Regions from separate parts of the Homo sapiens genome. Here regions 1 and 2 are each linked to region 3. Evidence: promoter capture Hi-C in human tissues and cell types (Jung and others, 2019). All regions are on one chromosome and are shown on one strand. The core of a region is centred on a gene start or on the middle of the fragment in contact, and the rest is flanking DNA. Distances in the headings are between cores, read along the strand shown. Region 1 has its middle 17 kb from the start of MIR5708. Region 2 has its middle 58 kb from the start of ZC2HC1A. Region 3 holds the start of STMN2 (stathmin 2).

Region 1 (2,700 bases), core at 23-2,522, 650 kb after region 3:
AATGCCAGGTGGGGCTCCTGGAATCATAGGAAGGGCTCTGTTTTGGAGCCTGGGTTGTTGACCTTAAAGTCCAGCCTTCCAAATCCAGCCGATGACCTGAGACAAGTTACTTAACTTGTTACAACCTGTTTTCTCATATGTCTAAAAGCTGTGATGATAGTAATAGCTTACCTTTGTTGTAAGAGTTCTACAAACACATGTGACTCAGGAGAGGTACTGAGAGCTTCTAGTAAGAAGTCAACAAAGTATTATGGGAGTACAAAGGTAGTAACAATTTACCTCTCCCTCCAGGCACTGAGAGGGTGGCATCTGAAATGGATCTTGAAGGACACATAGGAATTGGCCAGGTGGAAAAGACAGGAGGTAAATATCAGGCAAAGGGAACAGTATATGCAAACTACTGAAGCGAGAAACAGCATAATGTTTTTTATTTTTTTGAGGCAGGGTCTCACTCTGTTGCCCAGGCTGGAGTACAGTGGCACAATCATAGCTCACCACAGCCTTGACCTCCCTGGGCTCAGGTAATCCTCCCACCTCAGCCTCCTGAGTAACTGGGACTACAGACACACACCACCATGCCCAGCTAATTTTTGTACTTCTTGTAGAGAAGGGTTTCACATAATGTATTCTTAGAACTTGAAAGATTTGGTCTTGAAATGACAAGAAATGTTGAAGGGTGAGGGGAATTCATCACCTTGCTGTCCCTGTTCCCTATGTAGCCTCAAAGCTCACTCCTCCACTCCTTCACTTGCAAATTCTGGCCGGCCTTCCTTCCTTCCTCTCTCTCTCTTTCTTCCTTCCTTTCTTTCTTTTCTTCCCAAAGTACTTACTGTATAATATCAATTTAATAGAAATGTACTTATTTCGTTGATAGTCCTCAGCACCCTCATCCTCCTTCCCCCACCTCCATACATAGATGAGAAACAGTTCCCAGAGGACAGGAATTTTTGTCTGTTTTCTTTACTGACATATTCCCAATGACTCACACACTGCCTGGCACAGAACAAAACAAGTCATTTAATTCATTCAACACATATATGGTGCCTACCAAGCAATGGCTTGCCACTGGGGCTCCGATGTTGAACAAGATGGGGTCTTGAAGTGTTAGGACCTCCTGAGGAGTCCCCTGGCCATTCTGTGAAGGCTTTATTTAGAAAGACCCCTCCCGCAGGAGCTTTGGCTGTTTCTTTAGTCTTTCTTTGCCCACTCCCTAAATACTTGCAAAATGTAAATCCTTAAAAAAAAAAAAGTAAATCTTTATGGGGTTGAGCCTACTTCCAGTAAGTCTCTTCCCTTTGTGGATTTCCTGTGTGTCTGGTGCTGGGGGAGGTGACTTTGGGAGTCCCAGGAGACTGCCAGGTGCCTGGGGGAGAAGATGTTGAAAGGACAGGGTAGGGGTTCAGGAATGGAGGCGCCCAGAGACAAGTAGCCTCTTTCACAACCAGGCCTGGGGCTGTTCCTGTGATTGGGTGTCTCAGCCAAGAATGTCCCCAGAATTCCAAGTCATTTTTAGATGCAGCTTTCTTCTCCTGTGTTCAATAGCCTTCACTAAAGAAGGTTTAAGAGAAGGGGGTTTTCGTGGGTAGCTGTGCTCTGGGGCCTGAGAAAAGGGGAAAGAGGATCAAACCTTTCTTTGGTGTTTTTTATTTTTGTTTTATGAAATATCACAAAATACATTAAAGAATAATTAACAACATAACAACTCATTTGCCAGTTAAATATCCATTTTTAGTTTTTGAAAACAAATGCTGACTGGATGTGGCAGCTCACGCCTGTAATTCCAACACTTTGGGAGGCTGAGATGAGCAGATCACATGAGCTTAGGAGTTCGAGACTGGCCTGGGCAACATAGTGAAATCCCGTCTCTACAAAAATACAAAAATTAGCTAGGTGCAGTGGTGCATGCCAGTAGTCCCAGCTACTCAGGAGGCTATGGCAAGAGACAGAGGTTGCAGTGAGCCAAAGTCATGCCACTGCACTCTAGCCTGGGTGACAAGACAGAAACCCTGTCTCAAAGAAAAAACAAAAAAAGAAGAAGAAGAAAAGAAAGAAAAGAGGCTGGGCACAGTGGCTTACGCCAATAATCCCAGCACTTTGGGAGGCCAAGGCAGACAGATCACTTGAGGTCAGGAGTTCAAGACTAGCCTGGCCAACATGGTGAAACCCTGTCTCTACTGAAAATACAAAAGCATTAGCTGGATGTGGTGGCACACAGCTGTAATCCCAACTACTTGGGAGGCTGAGGCAGGAGAATCGCTTGAACCTGGGAGGTGGAGGTTGCAGTGATCTGAGATCGCGCCACTACATTCCAGCCTGGGGGACAGAGTGAGACTCTGTCTCAAAAAGAAAAAGAAAGAAAGAAAGAAAGAATTAATTAATTCTAATGTTGTGCTTTACTTGCCTTTTTAAAGCTTTTAAAGCAATAAATAATTATACAACTTAACAAGAAATAACACCAAGAAAAATGTTAGAAGACAAGCTACAAACTATAGAGAGATATTTGCATGCTTATGACAGATAAAATAATTCCCATCCAGAATATATAAATAACTCTGAGTTGATGCAGGATTTTTCTCGACCCCTTCATCAGACTTTCAACAGGGGCATGGCCACCTTGGGCACCTGCAGGAGCAGGCTCTGTGCAGGCCCTGTGATGTTGCCCAGTAGGAGGTGCCTGTGACCCCCAAAGCTCCAGAGGGC
Region 2 (2,700 bases), core at 36-2,535, 890 kb before region 3:
AAAAATAGCTTTTAATTATGTTTGTCGACTCTTTTATTCAATAAACATTTAGTGACTATTGTGTGACACTGTTTTAGGTGCTAGGGATATAGAAATAAATCAGAAACAATCATTAGCCCTAGAGAACTAAACCTAATGGAACTGGATCTATCACTGGCAACCTTAAAATTACCTCCGTTTGTACTTAAGCTGAAGCTCAACTTCAAACTCTGACATGCTTGGCATCTTGTTGAAAATAAATAACGATCTACCTAGTTTGCCACTGGTAGCACTTTGGCACTATTAATATTAACTATATACTGATGAAATTAACTTTCATAAAGGATTATACAAAAGTTTAGAGGGCAGAAAATATTAATGGATAAACAAGTACTGGTCAGCAACAAAAATAGCGTCAGCCTTCTGCTTTCACAAAGGCCAAGAAAACCAAGAAAAATTTCATTCTGAGTATATACAGAACTGCTGGGAAGAGATCATTCTATACATGTAGTACATATGCAAATATCATATATGAGGAAGTATGAGTTATTACACAATCATTAATAACTAAGCATGCCAAATCAGTCATCAGGTTTCAAAGAATCATAGCCTTGTTTCAAGAGGTCCTGCCAGGTTTTAAGGAAACATGCATTTTCTGTACATTGGAAGACAAGCTATTCCACTTGAGCTGGTACTGCAGATGTGACCTCAAGAAATTTGGTTAATGAAAATGCTGCATCTCTGATCTGCATCTCCACTTTCTCCAGCAGGTCTACCATTTGGCCCTTGTTCCTGCTCAGAACTGGCCAGCCCAAACTCACTGGTTGCGTGGGAAAGATGCTAAAAGGTGTTTGAAGATGAGGAAGAAAAGGGAAGTTCTGGGAGCTGGTGAAGAAACCCACAACTCCTCAAGGTCAGCCATGGGGAAGAGCTAGGAGCTCAGAATCCAACCAGCAAGAGGACATTTTAAAACAGGTTCTTTTTTCTTTCTCTTTTTATCACCTATGATTTTAAGAGTCCAGGTAATACAAGCAAAGGTTTACTCCATAGAGCATAGAATAAAAACAGTTAATCTAAATATTTAAGAGGTATGTTGCCATGCTATTGTTGGGCTTGGGTGAATATATATTTACATTTCTGTATATCTACATATGTATGAAATATTTAGATCTGTTTTCATATATTTGCCTATTTAAAGCTTAATTTTTTAAAAAAGTTTTATTTTTCTCCTAATTATTGTTAAGGGGAACATTTTAAGAACTAGAAAGTTTTAAAAATATATATTTTTACTTATCTTCTCAAACTTATATTTCTTATAGGGAAAACTCATAAACTCTTCAAGAAACATCAGGAACTTAAAATTTTATTTTAAACATTAATTCCTTAACTGTGATTCATTTTGGAAACATGCTATTCAATTAACTATTAATTTGAAAATTCAAAAATAGGTTTTTCCATATGTCTTACTATCAATGAAATCAAAACGCCATTTGAATAAGCAACTTGTATGCTAGAGTAGCTTTATACCCTCTCTGAGGCAGTCTATTCTCATGCCGTTCCCTTTTAGTAAACACTGTCATGTTTCTCCCTCTTATATCAGTAGAAAGATTTTTTCTCACTGATGTCATTACCCGAAAGCTATTTTCAAGGAGGAAGAGGTCTTATCGTTTATTGGCTCAGATACCATATTTTAAGTAGAAAACATTGGACAATATAAAACACTGCCCAACTCCTGTCTTCTAGTGAAAAATTATTTTGATTTGTGATGTATTTCAAATCTAAATTTTGTTATTATCTGTAATGGGCATTTGTCATCATTGTGGCTAGCACCTTTTGAAAATCATATGTTTGGCAAATTTTCCATGGTGAAACTCTCACTGCATCAAAATTGTAGCTAGAATTTATAGTTTTCTATACTTTCTTACAGCGAGGGAGTATTCATGTGACTTGGGAACTACTGAACAGACTTGGATTCTGAAACAAATAATATGAAATGGACACTGCAGCCTCCATTTCCTAGTGAGGATGGTGGAGTTTAGTGGAGAGACACAGAGCTTCTAAGGTAGCTGTGGCAGAGCATCAAGAAGTGACACCCTTATTGCAACATGTGGCCTGTTCCCCATGGTAGCACTTTAACTGACTGTCCTCCCCTCCAAGTTTGGAGCTGTTCAGCCAGAAAGAGTGCCAAGTTGGTGATTATAACTTGGGCATTGTTTCTGGCTGAACAGCCTCCAAACTTGACTATCTGGCTCTCCCAGAGATTCTATGCATTTCCCAATAGCTTTTAGTTATTATTATTATTATTTGCTTAAACTGATTAGACTCGGATCTGCTGTTTGCACTCAAAAACTCTTCAACAACCAAATTTGGTCTAACTTGTGCTTTCCTTTTACAGTGGCTGTAGTAATGGGGGATGTGTTAAAATCATATTTTACAGGAAAGAATATTCAATATACTGAAACAAGACATCTTCCTTAACCCAATCGTAGTGTTAGATAACCACAGACTGAATTTAAGAAGTATGCTTTGAGTATAATTATATGTATCTTGCAGGATGAATTTGAGGATTATCAGTAACATGTATAAAATCTTTGCCACAATCTGTGACATTTAATAGGCCTCAGTAAATGTTATGAATTATTTATTACATAATGTTAGATATATGTTCATGTTAGATGTTGATCAAAACTTTATTTTATTTAATTCCCACCAGGCACTATT
Region 3 (2,700 bases), core at 1-2,500:
AGAGTTAAATTAGCAGTAATTAAAAACTTCATGCAGCAACTCCTAAACTTTTTCTCACCATTTTCAGAGCTGTGCACATGGTAAATGCTCAATACATATTTAAGTCAAGTGAAAGAGAACAAATGAATGACTGGCATCCATTAAGTGAGAAGGAGGAACTAATAAATGCCTTGTTTGTAATGAAAGTCATTTTTTGCAACTAGTCTCAAAGATCCTCACATACGACATTGCTCAATCCGAAACTTGAACACAGCCTTCCTGGGCCTACATAAACGTAGTCTCTCTGGATCTCAGAAAAATAATGACCCAGACCACACCTTTCATCTCTTCTAAGTTTTCCATGTAAAGCATTCTCCTTAGAGCCCTGGAAAGGTTACTAAAATTTTGACCCACTTAATCCTACACCTTCAGGGCAACATGGCATTCACCTGTGGTTTCCTTAATGCCCAAACCAGCCAGCCAACCTGTTTTCTGCCGTGTTAACAAATGGACAGGACACAGGCACCAGAGGTTAAACTTTCTTCCTCTTCCCCCATGTCCCCAGGTGGACCATTATTACCATCCCTATTCCCAAGCAACCAGGTAGCCCCTTCCTCTGTGCCAAGGGAAGAAAACACCATGCTTCCCTCTCCTGAGAGACCTTCAAGAGTTTAGAGACGCCTAAGTCCAGCTGTGCTAAAAGATAAAGGACAATAATGCAAGTCTGCTCTGAGCTGCCACCATAGCCAGACATAGGGTAGCCCTGAAAGACTAGAACCAAGGACAGAGCCAAAGGTGAAAGAAAATATGAAAAAGTGAAAACACAGTATTTAAACAGAATTTTCCAACAGCCTGCATATAGTGAGGACTTCTCAAGCTTCTGAATCCTTTTCCATTGAATTGTGCAATGGCACATGTATGAGCAAAGTCAAGCCTCCTGGCTCCCAGGTAGGCACAGCCCAGTTCTTAGCTCCTAGGAAGCTTCAGGGCTTAAAGCTCCACTCTACTTGGACTGTACTATCAGGCCCCCAAAATGGGGGGAGCCGACAGGGAAGGACTGATTTCCATTTCAAACTGCATTCTGGTACTTTGTACTCCAGCACCATTGGCCGATCAATATTTAATGCTTGGAGATTCTGACTCTGCGGGAGTCATGTCAGGGGACCTTGGGAGCCAATCTGCTTGAGCTTCTGAGTGATAATTATTCATGGGCTCCTGCCTCTTGCTCTTTCTCTAGCACGGTCCCACTCTGCAGACTCAGTGCCTTATTCAGTCTTCTCTCTCGCTCTCTCCGCTGCTGTAGCCGGACCCTTTGCCTTCGCCACTGCTCAGCGTCTGCACATCCCTACAATGGCTAAAACAGCAATGGGTAAGGCACTGCGCCTCGTTCTCCGTCGGCTCTACCTGGAGCCCACCTCTCACCTCCTCTCTTGAGCTCTAGAAGCATTCAGAGATATTTTATAAAGAAAAAGATGTTAATGGTAACACAGGACCAGGAAGGACAGGGCAGTTCTGGGGGAGGTGGGAGGGCAGAGAAGAGGTCTATGGAAATCTAAAGCGAAGAATTTCTTTTAAAAGGTAGAAGCGGGTAAGTTGCCCTCCTATGGGTAGAGAATTTATTCTGTTTCCATATTTAAAATTAGGACTCAATCGTGAGGGGAGGAAGCTACCTTAACTGTTTGCCTTAAATGGGCTTAAGGGACATTTTGGAAAGTGCTTTATAACGACCTTTTTTTTTTTTATTTCTTCTCTAGTTTAAGAAGAAAATAGGAAAGGGGTAAAGGGAAGGTGGGAGAAAGGAAAAAGAAAATTGCAAAGTCAAAGCGGTCCCATCCCGCTGTTTGAAAGATGGGTGGAGACGGGGGGAGGGGATGGAGAGAACTGGGCACATTTTACGGTATTGTCTCGTCGAAGAAACCGCTAGTCCTGGGGTGCGGTGCAGGGAGGTAAGACGGCGGGGGACAGGGTGGGGGTAGGACCTCCGCTCCTTTGTTTTAGGGCAAGGGAGGGGAAGGAGAGAGGAAGTCGCGGAGGGCGTGGAGGGCGCGGGTGGGCAGCTGCAGGGGCGGGGAAGCGCGCGGCAGGGAGGGGTGGAGGGACAGCGGCTTCGAAGGCGCTGGGGTGGGGTTTCTTTGTGTGCGGACCAGCGGTCCCGGGGGGAGGCACCTGCAGCGCTGGGCGCACAATGCGGACAGCCCCACCCAGTGCGGAACCGCGCAGCCCCGCCCCCCCGCCCGGTGCTGCATCTTCATTCGAAAGGGGGTCGGGTGGGGAGCGCAGCGTGACACCCAGGAGCCCAACCCTGCGGGGACAGCGGCGCCACGCCCCGCGCTCCCCGCTCCCGACTCCCCGCCGCGGCTTCCAAGAGAGACCTGACCACTGACCCCGCCCTCCCCACGCTGGCCTCATTGTTCTGCTTTTAAGAGAGATGGGAAAAGTGGGTTAACATTTTTCTTTTCGGAAGCAAATTACATAGAGTGTTTAGACATAGACACAGATAAAGGGTTCTTTGAAGACCTTTGATCGTTTGCGGGAAAAGCTTCTAGAACCTAGACATGTGTATGTATAATAATAGAGATGACATGAAATCGTATATAAAGCAAAAGAGGTCAAAGTCTTAAGTTAAGCCACGCGAAATTTCCGTTTTGTGGGTCAGACAGTGCCAAATATCGGCAATTTCATAAGCTCAGAGAGACAAGACAGTGGAGACACAGGATGACC

The links. Contacts are between HindIII fragments. The study calls those that stand out against the background at their distance.
Region 1: a contact is called between a fragment that was not itself captured here and the fragment with the promoter of STMN2 in region 3, in 1 of the 25 tissues and cell types used here (lymphoblastoid cells).
Region 2: a fragment that was not itself captured here is called in contact with the fragment with the promoter of STMN2 in region 3 in 1 of the 25 tissues and cell types used here (dorsolateral prefrontal cortex).

The regions. Positions count from the first base shown.
Region 1 is chr8:80,257,261-80,259,960 of GRCh38, forward strand. No RefSeq gene overlaps it. Among named protein-coding and RNA genes, the nearest start is that of MIR5708, 17 kb to the left of the region's middle. The HindIII fragment of the contact is 4,365 bases long and covers 1-2,700 here.
Region 2 is chr8:78,723,236-78,725,935 of GRCh38, forward strand. It overlaps a transcript of IL7 not described here and the pseudogene C4orf46P3. Among named protein-coding and RNA genes, the nearest start is that of ZC2HC1A, 58 kb to the left of the region's middle. The HindIII fragment of the contact is 3,622 bases long and covers 1-2,700 here.
Region 3 is chr8:79,609,867-79,612,566 of GRCh38, forward strand. It overlaps STMN2 (stathmin 2), which reads left to right and starts at 1,251. Exons shown (of 5, transcript NM_007029.4): 1 at 1,251-1,348. The coding sequence starts at 1,330. The HindIII fragment of the contact is 1,951 bases long and covers 1-1,739 here.